2 separate regions of the Homo sapiens genome follow, and region 1 is linked to region 2. Evidence: promoter capture Hi-C in 16 types of primary human blood cells and fetal thymus (Javierre and others, 2016). All regions are on one chromosome and are shown on one strand. The core of a region is centred on a gene start or on the middle of the fragment in contact, and the rest is flanking DNA. Distances in the headings are between cores, read along the strand shown.

The links. Contacts are between HindIII fragments. The CHiCAGO score rates a contact against its expected background, and 5 or more counts as called.
Region 1: a fragment that was not itself captured here is called in contact with the fragment with the promoter of TBKBP1 in region 2 in 1 of 17 cell types (erythroblasts); the score reaches 5.4 in erythroblasts.

The regions. Positions count from the first base shown.
Region 1 is chr17:47,117,192-47,120,774 of GRCh38, reverse strand. CDC27 (cell division cycle 27) reads left to right here. Exons shown (of 19, transcript NM_001256.6): 19 at 1-3,072. Among named protein-coding and RNA genes, the nearest start is that of CDC27, 70 kb to the left of the region's middle. RefSeq lists an enhancer at 365-975. The HindIII fragment of the contact is 164 bases long and covers 1,766-1,929 here.
Region 2 is chr17:47,691,756-47,695,410 of GRCh38, reverse strand. TBKBP1 (TBK1 binding protein 1) reads right to left here and starts at 1,250. Exons shown (of 10, transcript NM_001394755.1): 1 at 1,217-1,250. RefSeq lists enhancers at 1-134, 135-814, 815-1,495 and silencers at 592-651, 902-1,031. The HindIII fragment of the contact is 10,063 bases long and covers 1-3,655 here.

The DNA of each region.
Region 1 (3,583 bases), core at 598-3,097, 580 kb after region 2:
GAAAGGCAGTGCAATATTTAGCTGCTAACAAGACTGGCTCTTTTACCAGTATGAATGACAATTTATGGGGGGTAGGGTGGGGAACTTTCTTTTCTGTTTTTCTTTAATCTCCCTTTGTTGGAAAGTATCATGAAAGGAAGAGTTATGCTTTATCTTGAAGGAACCATTAGATATGGAAAATAGTGATGAACCAGAGTTTCTTGGTTGCTTTTTCAAAAATTTGTTTTTATTTGGTTCTGTTCCTGATAAACAGAGTAACTGACCTTCATTTCTAGGTTCTTCAAGAATGGTGTTTGCAAGTGCCAGATGGAACAATAAAAGACGTTGCCTATAACAGTGACTTGATTGCCAAGGAATGTAAATTACCTTAAACTTGCAGTATCTCCCATAAACAAATGTAATGGGCATATTGGGACTCGTATGTAGGAATCAAATATCCCTCCATACAGTGTACTCTTATTCTTGGCAAGAATGCTTTAATGTCTAACCAAGAATTTTAATTTATTCATCTTGCTTCAAAGTGTTGATCATTGTTGTCTTGGTATTGCAAACTTTAAAATTGTTTCTTACCATATTGCCTCTTCTCTTTGAGCTCTGTGGGATCACCTTTAACATTCAGAGATGATAGAGTGGTTCCCCACTGAGAAGCCAAAACAAGGCCCTTAATAACCCCTTAAGTTCACCATATGAATCAGAAGGAGAACACTAAAGTGGAGAGACTTTTAAGAGATCATGATAGTGAAAGCCTTAATATAATCAGAATTGTACCATAACCTTGAATCTATATTTGTTCAAAACATCCCTTTGACTTTTCTAAGTGTTTGCTTAAGCAGAGTGTAAGAATGTGTGGTTACCTTTGGTTGAGATCCTTTCCATTCTTTTTGACTCTCTGCTTCAGATTTTTTCAGTAGTGTGAGTCACCAAAACATTTACTAAGAGTAATTGGGTTTAGGATGTTGGAAATTTTTAGCTTGGGGGAAAAAACATTCTTATGAAGGAGATAGGTTCTCTTCTGAGTTTGTCATAATATAGATTGGTGTCTTTGGAAAATGGCCACAATTTTAAGAATTCAATTATGCATATAAAATGATAATTATTGGAATTCCACAGTAACAGATTTAAACAGTCTTAAATTGTTTATCTCCTTTACTGTAATGTATTGAAATTTTTAGAGAAATTTTAGTTGTTAACATTTTATTAAGTGCCAGTGTCAGAATATAACAAATTATAGTTTCTTATGAATGACAGGCCTACAGTTATTATTCTGGATTATTTGATGGAGGACAAACTTACCTGTATTTGTTAGTCAAGCTGTGAAAATAAGGTGGATTACAAAAGATGTGAAAAAAATTTTAGTCTGTAGACTCAGTAATTTTCTATAATTTACTGTTAATCTCATTTGAACATGGATTAGGTACAATTTATAAATTAATTCAAGTCAGGGTCTTTAGGTATCAGGTGCCAGAGAGATATTTAACAGATTTCCCTACCTAAATTTATGTATATGTACTGTCTAAAACAATACTTTTTTAAAAAAAAGGAACAGTTGGGAGAAAATAAATATAATGAAAAATTCCCAGAGGCTAGCACTTGGATTCTAACACGTATGCTATTGTATTATCCATTAGTTCTGTAATATTTAATTTTAGATTCTTTTATTTTTTTAATTGGCAAAGCACAAGGTGCTGTATAACAGTGTCATTTAGAGTTTTATAGAAAGCTTCAACCTGAGTTCTGCGTTATAAAGCCTGGAGAAAGCTAAGCTTAGAACATAACTTGCTGAAGTATAATTATCTTTTTGTAGCAGGAATTTATGTGCCAGAGGTGAGAGTCTTTCTGGTACTGATTTTTTGAGACCAAGGATAAAAGGATCGTTTTGTAAGACATGCCATGGCAATGGCTGGTTGGGGGACAGTTTCCGCCCAAGCTTGGCCTATTTTATTTTTCCTCATACCTACTTTCAAAGTCATTTAGGTATTTGAAGCCTTATTTCCCACGTAGTAACACTTTCTGGCTTTTGCAGTTTCTTTTTTTGTTTGGTTTTGTTTTTTGCATGGAATGGGGATCAAACAACCCGAAGAAGAACACATTTTGATCAAGCAAAATGTTTGCTTCAAATTTCAGAAGTTTATTTTACAGAAATTAAATTAAGTAGTTTGACATCCTTTTCTCTGTTTCACACATATATTAGGTTGGTGCATAAGTAATTGTGGTTTTTGCCATGACTTTTATGGCAAAACCTGCAATTACTTTTGCACCAACTTAATACATCTATATACATATATATATACGCGCACACACTTGTTCAGAAGTTATGTTGTGGCCTTGGATTTGTTTTTCCCCTTGGAAATGGTTCTTAACTCTGGGATTTTAGAAGGTTAGAATATTTTTTCAAGAGAACAGTGGTACTCAAAAGAATGAAAGGTGGTCCCTACATTTTCTGTATTCATCACTTAAAATTTTTAATTTTTCCGAGAACTACAAGTAACATTTGAACCATGCTGCTGTTGTACCTTAAACAAAAACTCAGTGATAACCAGTATTTAGTCTATTAAAAATGCTCTTTTTGAAGAAAAAAGTTTGGAAGTCTCTGATTAGCCAGAGTATAGTATGAGTCTTCACTGAGAAATATGGTGACCCATTTTCTTTGTGAAAACCTGGGAAAATGCAAGTGTGGGTATGAAGTGTGTGTTCTGTTTGCATTGAAACAATGTAATTTTGTGTCTTCTTTTTGCTTTAACTGACTTATTTCAGAAATTGTACAGTGTTGAGGGGGAAAGTCTTTTCTGTTAATATATTTGCAATTCATTAAAGGATATGGAAAATCCAAATAAGTTACTTTTGAAAGCAATTTATAATCAAGTTGTTAAAGCTATATGAAAGCTGTGCCATCTGTATTTTAATAAGAAGGCACAGAAAAACAGAGATACAGTTTTATGTTTCACAAAAAACTAGAGCAATGTTTATCTAATTTTTTAAAACTTACACTCTTAATATATTTATATTTTTAAACGGTCATACTCTTTTTTAGTATTATTTGGAATATCAAAATAAATACTATGACAAAAACAATGGTAATTTTTAGAATACCTTTTTTCAAACTACAGAAGCCCCTTACCAACCAGCAGCTGCGAATTTGCAAGTCAACTGCTTATTCTTTGATCACGTGATTTCTGAAATTTCTTCAAAAGGGACACAAAGGTTTTTTTGTTCCAATTAGAATCTATTTAAAAAGGTCAGGATCTGAAAGAAGTAAGATGTAGAAACTAAATTTTACTCTAATTTGAAATTTTTTTTTTTTTGGTATCTTGGAGAAAGTACAAAGAGCTGAAGGGTTTTATTCAGACTTGAAGAAAAGGCAGTAACAGGGAAAAACATGTGAAGGTGGGGTGAGCTGGGCAGTTCCAAGGGGAACAATGCAGACCTCATAACCTTCCCTAGGACCTGCCATTTAATGTCAGCTGAACAAGGATAAACAGCAGCTTAGACATGGAGCTATTCTTTGGCTTGTTTAGCTGACAACTTATGGTTCATGAAGGTTCAGTATAGGTTTTATTTTTCTTTGTAAGTGCAAACTTTGTTT
Region 2 (3,655 bases), core at 1-2,500:
CCAGGTGGAAGGGGACGCGAACGAATTCCCAAGGCTGTCTCAGGGTGCCCGCGCACCGGGAAATGGGGAACCCTACGAGGGGGCAGGAATGACTCAGGCTCCCGAAAGCAGGAGTAGGCAGTGAGGGGGTGCGTGTGTACTTCTCTCGGGCCTGGTTATGAATGTGTGTCTGGGGTTGGCGTATGGGGGGAGTGTGCGTCTGTGAATGAGTGTAGGTGTGTCAGTCAATGAGTGCCTTCGGGGTCGCAGGGGCGTCGGGACGGAGTGGGGCAGCGACCAGGAGGCTGGTGTGTGCACGCGTGCGTGAGCGCGTGGGCAGGGTGGCACGTCCGGGCCGCGTGTCACGTGAGACGCGAGGGGACTGTCCGAGGTGTGTGCGCGCGCTGGAGCGTTATGTGCACCCCGGAGAGGGGGCTCGGCAGGGAGCTGTGAGTTCAGACAGCGGGGCCCCCAGGTCGGGCTGCAGGAGCTTGGGGTGCAAAGGGCTCCGGCGCAGGCTCCAATTCAATCCACCCCCCCCCCTCCGCCACCCACAGGCCCATCTAAGTGCCAGGGAAACGCGAGTGACTGGGTCTGAGTAAGGAGTGTGTGCGCGCGTTTGTAGGGCCGGCCCCACCTTTAACCCTCTCCTTCCCACGCCATCCCCTCCCCCCAGCTCCGCGCGCCAGCGCTTACCACACCCCCCCAGACCCCCGCCCGCCCCTCTGCGCCCACCCCGCTGGCGGGGCTCTGTCCCCGAGGCCGCACCACAAATGCCTCCTTCCTCCGCATTCCTCTCTGGGCCCAGCGCCCGGGTGAGCGCAATGGAAGGCGGCTGGGGAAGGGGTGAGTGCCTCTGTCGGCCCGGGCCCCTCCTGCGGCCCCTTTAAGAGCCGCCCTTTAAACCCCTTTCGCTCGGCCGACAGAAATTGTCGCCCCTCCCCTCTCGGGGGCCGAGACCACGCAGCCCCCTCCCCCACAACCGGCCGAGCCCTGGGCCCCCGGACACCCTCTCGGGGCCGGGGAAGGGGCTCCGGGAGTGGCGCGGCCTGAGGAACGGCGGCGGAGGGGGACGCGAGGGGATGAGGGCGGCCGACACCGGACCCCTTCCCTCCCAGCCATCCCGTGCGGCTGCCAGCCGCCCTCCTGCCGCCTCCTCCTGCCCACCCCGCGACCCCTGGGGCCCAGCCCGGGCGCCGCTCCCCTCCCCCAGCCCTAGCCCCAGCCGGGGACTCACAGCTGCTGCCGGTTCCTGCTTGTAATCGCAGCTTACCCCCTCCGCCTGCTCCCTCCCCAAACGGGCACCAGTGCCCCCACCCCCCTGGTACCGCGCTCTGCTCCTCGCCCTGTCGCCGCCGCCGGGTCTCTCCCCACCCCCCACCCCTCCCCCCAACCCCCTCCCTCCCGTCCGCCCCGCTCCTCCTCCGCCGCCGCCGCCTCCTCCGCCTCCTCCTCCCCGGCTGCTCCGGGTTTCTCCAGCTGGGAAGGCGCCCCGGACCCCGCCGCTGCCACCACCACGTGGCGAGAGGCGGCGGCCCCTACGGTGCGGCCCTTCCTGGCAGCGCGCCCGGAGCCCACCGGCTCCCTGCGGCGCCAGCGGCCCGCGCTGGCGCCCCCTCCCCGACGCCTCCCGGCGCAGTGTGGCGTGGTGGCGTGTGTTGGGGGCGTCTGCGGTCAGTGCAGGGGCCCGGCTGATGCTTTGGTTGTTTTGGTTGTTTAGTTATGGGCTGTATATTTGGGGAGGAAGTGGGGCTATTTATCTGGCTTTTTTTTTTTTTTTTTGGTCTTTGCGCTTTTGAGAAGGAAATCATTAGACCTGCTCTTCGTTGCTCTTGGTAAAAGGGGCATTGCTGCGATAAATACATTGAACATAGGGTACAGAGAGATTAAAGCTGTAACTTCTTTGGAAGTGAGAGTAAACTAAGGAGGTCAAAGATTCATTCATGAAGAAGGACAGCCATCTCCCTCCCCACACACCACTCCCCGGCCACCCTCAAGTACCCACAGGTCAGGGAAATGAAGAAACAACAGATGTCACCCTGTGCACAAAGATTATTTGAGCACCTGCCAAACTGCTGGGCAAGAGAAACAAGTTTTTTGCTACTTTCCTGCTGTGTGACCTTGGGCAAGTTACCTTAACCTTTCTAAGCTGGAGATCATGCCCCACCTAAGCACTCTCATGGAGGAAGAATGGGGATCAGAACTAAATACAGCAGCCTGCGAATGCTCAGGAAGTGTTAACGATGTCATTTTGAGTATTGCCTGGTGGATTAAATAATGTGGACAGAGGCATGGTCAGCCTAGCTGCAGGTAGAGAATGATCAGGGGAACCCTGGAGCACTCTGGCTGAAGAGCATCCTCTGTGGACAGGGAGGCAAAGCCCGGAAGCAGGGGATAAGCTGGGCGGGGGCTTTTGGCAGATTCAGCCTTAGCTGCGAAGACTGCTGGGAACCTGAGCCTACCTTTTTGGCTCCTGAGGTGGGATGGGGGTGGGAATCTCCGAGGGGGAGGATGGAAGGAAAAGGTTTCTTGCTCTCTCTGAGCTTTGAAAAGCAGCAGCTGCCATCTTTCCTCACTGCTGGGAGAAAATTGGACTGAGAGGTGAGCTTCTACCAGGAGAGCCAGCCAGAGCTCTAGACTCATTCTCTTCATAGAAGGGGGGATTCTCAGTGGCTTCCTTCCTCCTCCTCCTGCTGGGTTCCCTTTCAGTCTTTCCTGCCAGCACTGGCTCCCGTTTGTAGTCCAGAACAGGAAGGCAGGTCAGCCACTTGTTCTCTGAGGCACTAGCTTTCTCTGAACCATGTGGGATGACCTATCTACCCTCTAGATATGAAGGCAAACCAGTGGGGACATCTGTCACCCCACTAATCCCAAGGGCTAGGCAGATGTTCCTTTCCCTAGTACTCCCCAAGATCTCTTCTGAAGCAAGGGACCAGGCAAAAGATTGGAGGCTAGACTAGGAGGTGTAGGGTTGTCTCTGGGACCCTCGGTGACCTTGGACTTGGCCACAAACAGGACCCATAAGACCAACTGGCAAGCCCTCCCTCACTGGAAAAAGGGGTCCCAGGACCCTCTAAGCACACACTGTCTGGGATGAGTCATCAGCCCCCTGCTGCTGCTTGGATGCTCAGGGCCTAATTGAGTCACCTGGCAGGGTGCAGCCAAATGCTTCTATCCTTGGTTCTAGGTGGTTGGTGGCAAAAGTCCATTAGGCCTGGTTTAGGTGCCCTAAAATCCTCCCCCTCCCCCAATCTGGACCTGATCTCATTGCATTCTCCATTTCTAGTTCTGCTGCTCATACCAGGCAGTTCTGAGAGCAGAGATTATATCCCATCCATCCTTGTATTCTAAGGTGCCCTGAGGGTTGGTACCTGCTCGTTGTATATTTATTCGGCAAAGATTTCTTGAACATCTATTATGTGCTGGGTGCTGAGAATACAGTGCTGAACATGTCTCTGACAGGTATACATGTCTCTTGCTCTCTTAGAGCTTGCAGTATGGTAGAGAAGTCAGAAAAATAAAAAGATGAATAAGTAAAACCACTAGAAATTGTGATAAAGGACCAGGCACAGTGGCTCATGCCTGTAATCCCAGCACTTTGTGGGGCTGAGGCAGGCAGATCACCTGAGGTCAGGACTTTGAGACCAGCCTGACCAACATGGTGAAACCCGTCTCT